3 separate regions of the Homo sapiens genome follow, and all the other regions are linked to region 3. The links are contacts of gene promoters, found by promoter capture Hi-C in human tissues and cell types (Jung and others, 2019). All regions are on one chromosome and are shown on one strand. Each heading gives the region's core, a stretch centred on a gene start or on the middle of the fragment in contact. The rest is flanking DNA. Distances are from core to core; before and after follow the strand shown.

Evidence for each region. Contacts are between HindIII fragments. The study calls those that stand out against the background at their distance.
Region 1: a contact is called between a fragment that was not itself captured here and the fragment with the promoter of LEAP2 in region 3, in 2 of the 25 tissues and cell types used here (lymphoblastoid cells and mesenchymal stem cells).
Region 2: a contact is called between a fragment that was not itself captured here and the fragment with the promoter of LEAP2 in region 3, in 1 of the 25 tissues and cell types used here (mesenchymal stem cells).

Annotation. Positions count from the first base shown.
Region 1 is chr5:132,571,009-132,573,857 of GRCh38, reverse strand. The region is part of intron 2 of RAD50 (RAD50 double strand break repair protein); the gene reads right to left. Among named protein-coding and RNA genes, the nearest start is that of RAD50, 15 kb to the right of the region's middle. The HindIII fragment of the contact is 7,396 bases long and covers 1-2,849 here.
Region 2 is chr5:132,588,889-132,591,829 of GRCh38, reverse strand. It overlaps RAD50 (RAD50 double strand break repair protein), which reads right to left. Exons shown (of 25, transcript NM_005732.4): 9 at 1,993-2,199; 10 at 424-606. Among named protein-coding and RNA genes, the nearest start is that of RAD50, 33 kb to the right of the region's middle. The HindIII fragment of the contact is 3,171 bases long and covers 1-2,841 here.
Region 3 is chr5:132,872,029-132,875,028 of GRCh38, reverse strand. It overlaps LEAP2 (liver enriched antimicrobial peptide 2), which reads right to left and starts at 1,361. Exons shown (of 3, transcript NM_052971.3): 1 at 1,278-1,361; 2 at 940-1,079; 3 at 1-619. The coding sequence starts at 1,334. The coding sequence ends at 583. The HindIII fragment of the contact is 2,304 bases long and covers 1,356-3,000 here.

The sequences.
Region 1 (2,849 bases), core at 243-2,742, 300 kb after region 3:
CTGGAGCTTTAAGATACACCTGCCCCACTGAATTTCGGACTTGCACGGGGCCTGTAGCCCCTTTGTTTTGGCCAATTTCTCCCATTTGGAATGGCTGTATTTGCCCAATGCCTGTATCCCCATTGTATCTAAGAAGTAACTAACTTGCTTTTGAGTTTACAGGCGCATAGGCAGAAGGGACTTGCCTTATCTTGGGTAAGACTCTGGACTGTGGACTTCTGAATTAATGCTAAAATAAGACTTTGGGGGACTGTTGGGAAGGCATGATTGGTTTTGAAATGTGAGGACATGAGATTTGGGAGGGGCCAGGGGTGGAATCATATGGTTTGGCTGTGTCTCCACTCAAATCTCATCTTGAATCCCCATGTGTTGTGGGAGAAACCAGGTGGGAGATAATTGAATCACGGGGGCAGGTCTTTCCTGTGCTGTTCTCATGATAGTAAGTCTCACGAGATCTGATGGTCATTATAAGGGGGAATTTTCCTGCACAAGCTCTCATTTGCCACCATGTGAGACATGACTTTCACCTTCCACCATGATTGTGAGGCCTCCCCAGCCACGTGGAACTGTAAGTCCATTAAACCTCTTTCTTTTGTAAATTGCCCAGTCTTGGGTATGTCTTTAACAGCAGTGTGAAAATGGAGTAATACACAGAACTACAGTATACATAGCTTTCCTGCCCCCCAAACCACATGAGAGTAAGTTGCTGATCTGATGTCCCAACACCAGTATTTCCTACAAAACAAGGACATTTTCAACAACAAAAATCAGGAAACTGATACTGATATATTATTACCACATGGTCCACAAATCCCATTCAAGTTTTGCCAGTTGTTCCAAAATGTGATAAGTTACCATTAACTCAGCTGTGGCATATAAAATAATGGTTCTCCAAAGATGTCCACATTCTAATCCCTTGAATTTGTGAATGTTACATTACACAGCAAAAGAGAATTAACATTACAGATGGAACTGGGGTGTCAATCACTTGACTTTAAAATAGAAAGATTACCCTGGATTATTTGAATGAGGCAAAGTATCTACAAAAAGTTAGATGCTGATAGTAGAGGAGGTTGTGTGTGTACAGGCAGGGAATATACAGAAACTGTACTTTCTGCTCAATTTTGCTATAAACCCGAAGCTGATCTACAAAATAAAGTTTAAAGTCTGTTGAAAAAAATTTAATATGCTCCCTTAAAGTAGTAGAAAATGACCATCATCTTATAAGACCTAAAAGACCAACAATGAACAGACATTCAAATATCATATAATCACCTATTTTTTCTGATGTCTTCTGTCTTATATTAATATGGTCACTTCAGCATTCTTTTCATTAGCTGGCACGGTATATTTTTTCCATCCTTTTGTTTTAAACCCATCTGTACTATTATATATAAAAACACTGTTATTCCTTTTACTTTATTTAGGGTTTTTTGGTTATTGTCCTCCATTTTTCTCATGTTTTTATTTTTATGTTTTTATTTATATCTATGAACATAGTTATAAGATTTATAATAAGATTTTAAGGTTCTTATCTACTAATTCTATCATCTATTCATCCCTAGGGTACTTCTGTGGATGCCTTCCTCACTCAGTCCTACCTAATGGCTTTTGGACTGAATTAATCAGGAATGAATAACTATTCATCCATTAGTTATGCTGAGAGTTTTTATCATGAATGAGTATTAAATTGAAAAGCTTTTTCTGTATCTATTGATGCTCATATGATTTTTCTTCTTTATTCTATTACTGTGGCAAATTATACTGATTGTTTTTTTCTTTTTCTACAGCCTAATTCACTTGTCCCAGTACGTCCTTTAGAGCAAAAGGATTCAGTTCAGAATTACACTTTGTATTTGGTGGTTATGTCTCTTTACTTTCTTTCAGCCTGAAATAGTTGCTCAGATTTTCCTTGACTTTCATGACTGATAATTTTGAAAAGTACAGACCATTATTTTGCAGAATACCTCCCAAAATTTGGGTAATATTTCCTCACGACTAGAATCAGGTTATGTATCTTTGGCAAGAATATTATACAAGCGATGATGAGTTCCTTTTACTGCATCTCATCAGACAGGACATCATTTCCATTTATCTCATTACGGAGGGTATTAACTTCAATCCCTTTATTTATTTTTTTGAGACAGGGTCTCACTTTGTCATCCAGGCTGGAGTGCAGTGGCATGAACACAGCTCACTGCATCCACGACCTCTGAGTCATAAGCAATCCTCCTACCTCAGCCCCCCAAGTAGCTGGGACTATAGGTGCATGCCACCACACCCCGCCAATTTTTGTAGTTTTTGTAGAGATGTGGTTTCACCATGTTGCCTAGACTAACTTCAATCTCTTGATAAAGGTGTATCTCCTAGCTTCACCAAAAAATTTTTCTTTACAATTAATTAATAATTTGAGGGAGAGATGCAGAGACCATACAACTATCTCATACTTCATCAAACTTTCTTCCATTAGTTTTAGCATCTACTGTTTCTTACCTGAATGAATTATTATTATGACAGCTATCAAATACAGGCATACCCCATCTTATTGTGCTCTTCAGAGGTTTGTGGCAACCCTGCATCTAACAAGTCTATCGGTGCCATTTTTCCAACAGCATGTGCTCACTTTGTGTCTCTGTGTCACATTTTGGTAATTCTCACAATATTTCAAACTTTTTCATTATTATTGTATCTGTTATAGTGATCTGTGATAAGTGATCTTTGATGTTACTACTGTAATTGTTTGTGTGCCACAAACCATCCACATATAAGAGGTGAACTTAATCCATTAACGTGTGTGTCCTGACTGCTTTACTGACCTGCCATTCCCGTCTCTCTCCCTCTCCTTGGAA
Region 2 (2,941 bases), core at 7-2,506, 280 kb after region 3:
ATTATATCAAGAACAAAAATAAATTCTAGACTGACTAAAGTTCTAAGCTTAAAACTATAAAAATATGAAAATAAAATATAAAATTTCTTAAAGTTCTTAAAGTCTTCAAGTGGGGATGGTCTTTCTAAGCCTTAAGAGTGGAGTACCAAGTCGAACAATATAAAATTTTAAAATTTGTGTATGTTAAAAGTTAACAGTAATGTGCATGTGTGTATATACATATATATACATTTCTGTATTAACTTTTTGTAATTAAACAATAACTTTTAAGCTTGAAAGTCTATTATATAGAGTACTAAGCTCACTTAGCCTCTAAAATATAGTCAATACCAACTTAATACCTTATAGTCTATGACTTATGAGTGCAAGGTAGGCTATTTTAAGTACCAGACAGTATAATTAGAACAAAAAGAAAAATCATACTTTGTCTTTGGTCAGCATCTCCATTTGGGTACGTGTTGTTGTATGATGGTTTAACTGCTCCATCTCCTGGTCAAGTTTACGCAGGGTCCTGTCTAAGTCTGCTTTTTCATTTTGGAGACTTATTACTTCCATTTTTAAGGTTTCTACATTGCTGTTTTTCTCAGCCTTGCTTAACTCACGTTCCTAGTCAATAATTCATACAAATGCAAAGGTGTTATATATTTTGTGCAAGAATTAAAATAATGACAAAGTGTATTAGAAATTAACTACTCCTCAGAATGTTCCAAATATTACTGTTTGCATCCAACAAGAGAAAAAAACATAAGGCACTATATATGCTCTAAGGTATATCTTATTAAAGTGACCTTACTATGTTATAATGGTAGAGAATTAGTAAATAAACCTAGAAGGGTCAAACAGGAAAGAAATGTGAGAATTACTGTAAAATTAGGAGACATGTGTCTAAGTACACAGATTAGTGAGTCCTCAGTCAACAATTAAATATTTATTATGTCCCCATGTAATTCACTATATTGCCTGGTATGTAGAAACTATAAAAATAGTGTGATGTGGTCCCTGACCAAGTATCTCCCCACCCCAACAAGACAACACTGATGAAGTGCTAAACTGACAAAAATGTATGCTACAATGGTGAGTTATGGAGCAAAAATAAATGTTTACATAAATTATCAAGATGGGCTTTAAGAAGTTTGCCATGCTTTAGAATGCTTACTTTGGTAATGGAGATGTGAAGAAGGAGGACAGACTAGAAGCAAGAAAGAAAATATGGAAATACCTGAAAAGATTGGCTAAGAAAGTTTTTAACACAGAAAAAGTAATAATACAGCAAAAATCATCTAGAATTACAACGTGTGTGACCTAGAGGAAAAATACTTGCTTTTTTAAAACTTTGGCAAGTGTTCTTTTTCTTTTTTTTGAGATGGAGTCCCACTCTGTCACCCAGGCTGGAGAGCAGTGGCGCAATCTTGGCTCACTGCAACCTCTGCCTCCCAGGTTCAAGCGATTCTCCTGCCCTGGCCTCCCAAGTAGCTGGGATTACAGGCACACGCCACCACGCCCAGCTAATTTTTGTATTTTTAGTAGAGACGGGGTTTCACCATGTTGGCTGGACAGGTCTTGAACTCCTGACCTCACGTTATCTGCCTGCCTTGGCTTCCCAAAGTGCTGGGATTACAGGTGTGAGACACCGCACCCGGCCTGGTAAGTGTTCTTAATCAAGGTGCTCATAAGAATTAGCCAGTTTTGTTGTGTTTTGAATGTACATTTCTATGCCCCATTCTCAGAGATTTTGATTTGGAAGGTCTGAAGCTTTAAGGTCTGAGTACAGTATCTTTAAAAAGCTCCCTATGTGATTCTAATTTTCAGGCTATCGGGTTGTAGAACCAAAGAGTCAGAAGATCAAGATATTCAGATGAATTCATTTTACATGAGAATAAGACAAAGTTGATGTTTTTATTAAAATGCTATAATCTTAGGATCAAAAATAGACAAAATACTTCTAAAAGTATTATATCTTAAAATTATTAGATTATTCAAACAATATCTTACAGCTTTTATGAGCTCCTGGTCCAGTTCAAGAATCCTGTCTGAAGATCCTTCCAACTGCTGTAATTCATACTTCACATTTTTCAGCTCATTCTGCTTCTTACTTAGGATTTCTGATTTTAACTCAATTATTCTTCCCAGTCCAGTTTTCTTATCTCTTATCTCATCTATCTGTTTTTGTTTCAGAGTCTCTTTTTCTGCAAAGTCATTCTAAATGCATATGTAAAGAATGAGCATTAATAATTTACTAAACAATTTAAGTTTTTTAATTGCAAAAGGAATATATGTACACTGAAGAAAATACAAAAAAGTACAGTCGTGTGTTGCTCAGCAGGGATATATTCCAAGAAATGCATCATTAGGCAATTTTATCATTGTGTGAACATCAGAATGTATTTACATAAGCCTACATGGTATAGTTTAATACACACATAGACTATATGGTATAGCCTATTGTTTATGGGCTACAAACCTATACAGCATATTACTGTACTGAATACTTTGGCAACTGTAACATGATGATAAGTATTTATGTATCTAAACATATCTAAACACAGAAAACATACAGTAAAATACAGTATTATAATTTTATGGGACCAATGTCAAATATGTGGTCTATCACTGACCAAAACATGTGGTTCAAGACTGTATTTTAAAAACAATCAAAACCATTACCCAGAGATAATCATTAACTGTGAGCAAATGTTTTCTCTGCAATTAGTTTTTAAAAATTTTTACTTAAAACCAAATAAAAAATGTAGGTTTACATTTTCTTCATATTTTTATCTTTATACACTTAAGAACATTTGCTTCAATAAAGGTTTTTCTGCCTTGTAGCAGATTTTATCCTAACACTAATAGAAAAATATGCCAAAATGGAGTCCAACCAAAAATTAAAACAATTCAAGTAGAGAATATGATGCAAACAAAATAACAAATACTGTATTTCAAA
Region 3 (3,000 bases), core at 112-2,611:
GACAGAGTCTCTCTATGTCACCCAGGCTGGGGTGCAGTGGCATGATCTTGGCTCACTGCAACCTCCACCTCCCAGGTTCAAGTGATTCTCCTGCCTCAGCCTCCCAAGCTTGACCACCTTTGACACCTCCCTGAAGAGTATGGAGTGAAGGGATCCAGGGCCACAGCTTAGGAACTTGCTGAAGTTGATTACGTAGCTATTGATTATGTAGCTCTCACTACACTTTCCAGATTGAGAAGTTAACACATTATTGGGCAATGCTGTTTTTTTCTTTAGTATACAAAATGAATCCTTCTTTCCCTCAAAAGCTTGAATTCCAGACTGCTAAAATTTCAATTTGAGACATTTAATAGTATCCATAGAAAAATAAACTCTAAATTGACAAGTTTAGTTATGCTTATCCATATATCAACATTCTAAGAAGAAATGGAGACCAATTTAAAGCGTACATCTGCCTTTAAATATTAAAAATACAAGATTGCTTCACTTGGGTGTCTCCAGCCAAAATGCAGTTAATCAATATTCCATAGAACGGAGCATTGTCGGAGGTGACTGCTGTCCTTTCTTTCCCTGGTATGTACATCATTCCTGGGCCACACTTAAGGAACAGCGTCTTTTTCTAGGGGAAAAGAAAGGGTAGTTTTTTAAGACTGGGTCTAGGAATGACCAGGGCCACCTATGCTGCATTTCCTTCCTCTTTGCTTGATCTGTCCAGTCTCAGGAAAGACTGAAGAATGGAAAGGCACCACTCTTTCATGGTACCCACATAGAGCTGTTCTTGGCTCCTAACTCCTAAGGGATTTTCCATGGAGCTCCCAGTCTCAGTCTAGAACTCCTCCATCCCAGCTTTATTCTTAGGTTCATGTGTCCCCTTGTCACTCCTCTGCCCAGCTTCCCAGGGCTCTCTGGCCCAACCCTGCTCCCAGGTTCAGGGAGTACCTGCATAGCCTTGTGATACACTCAGAATCATCCCGGCAGGAGGCTCCAATAGGCCTGAGGGAAACCCCTCTCCAAAATGGGGTCATTCTCCGTGGCCTTCTCTTTGCCGAACTCACTTCTGGTATTGGGGAGCCATCTATCTGTAAGGGCAAAGACATTCAGATATGAAAGTGTTGACACCCTGCTGCACACCTTGGAAGAGTGATCATTCCATTCCGCAGATGCTGTAGACTCAGAACAGAGGAACCATTCCTCAGGACTGAATCTAGCTTTCAAGTTCCACCACCACTATCATCTCCACACTCCACACACACACATAAGTATCCTTCCCTCCTTACCTGGCCCAACAGCAACAGGAAGATCATGAGGACTGCACAAAGTTTGAGGTGCCACATCTTGACAGGGGGAGGATGTTGGAGCCTGAAAGCCAGGGACAGTTCCTACTTCCTTTTATAGACTGACATCAACTCTTGCATTGTTACTGGGTGAGATGGGGGCAAAGTTTATATTTGTAATCAGAATCAATTTAATAAGTTAATGTCTACCGGAGGAATGTGCTCAAGGGCCACCTTTCAGGCACGTTGTATTTACTGATCCCTCATCTGGACTTTGAGTGATTGTGTTGCTGGCATGGACCCTTTCGCCCATTTTACCAAAAGTCAGCACTGCCCTTCCTTCCCTTTGAAAGCCACGTGAAACCATTGAGGGAGGTCAGGCAACTAGCCACATTTCTATTCCAAAATAGCTCAGTGAGATCACTCCCATAGAATTCCAATAATGAAGTCTTCAGAAATAATGTTGGCCCCTTTCAGCCTTGTCTAGGAAAGAAGCACTGATCTATTGTGTACAGCCAATTGGATAAGGCCCTTATCTCCTTTCTGTGGGAGGATGCTTCAGCAAGGCCTACAGTTCCCCAGATCGTCCACTTGCTTAGATGGACTGTCACCCTAATCTGCACCTCTTTATCTCACTAGTAAAATGAAGACCCAGCTGTGGAAAGTTCAAAGTCTGGCCTCCTGCCCTCTCAGGGGAATGGCTGGATGTGAGACTTATTTGGACCACAGGTGAATTGAATAATTATAGGTTTCTTTTTGTTTTTAAGCACATGTAGATGAGGAGGTAACAAGATCTCCTAAATCAGAGGGAGAGCTTGTGTAGTGACTGTATTAAAAGCCTTGAATTATGGGCTTTCTTCCCAGTAGTTGAGTGGGGCCTTTCCTTCCGGCAGCTTCAGGGCAACAGGCATAGGGATGAGATACCTCCAAAGCCCAAAGCATCCATCAGTTTAAGTAGGAACTGCTGCAGATTTCTAGACCAAGGGAGGACATGTATCTAAACGATGGGTAGTTATGGGTACTCGTGAAATGACATGGGCATTTTAAGTTTGAGGGGAAAGCTGTGAATTCTGAGTAAGGAGACTGATTGGACTTTAGATCTTCCTATGACCTGGGAGGATAATAAGCTTAAGACAAAGACAACAAATTCTTTCTGCCGGGCATCATACTGAAAACTTGGCTAATACCTCTTCCCAAGGGCCGTCTCATCTTCACAGGTTGGGTATTTGGATAAGAACCTGCTTGTTCCTTTACTCCAGGAAAACGTGGAGGAGATGCACAACAGCTGAAGGTAGAAAAGGATGGCCACTGACCCTGCTGCCAGTCAGACAGAGGGAGCTTCTTGCCAAGGGAGAAGCAGATGGTTTGATGGACCTCAGAGCTGGAATTGGGCAGGATGTGACCACAGATCTGACTGTCCTGATTCTAGTCCTCTCAGAATCATGGAGCCAGGCCTTGAGGGGGATGCCACTGCATGCACTTTAGGAACATTGAGAAGAGACCTATATACCAACGAACCAGTTGAGACTAGTTCTCTGCTCCCTCCCTTCACCCCTAAGCTTGGATACTGGATGATCCCAGACAGGTGCCTAAACTGGGAACTTTTGCTGGGAGGGGAAGTGGCTATGTGGGTGACCTAGTGAGCACTGGGTAAGAACACAAATGATTAGATAAGCAAAGGACTGAACAACGTGATGTCCTAGAGCCAGTTGGGTCTGTGGCCTCA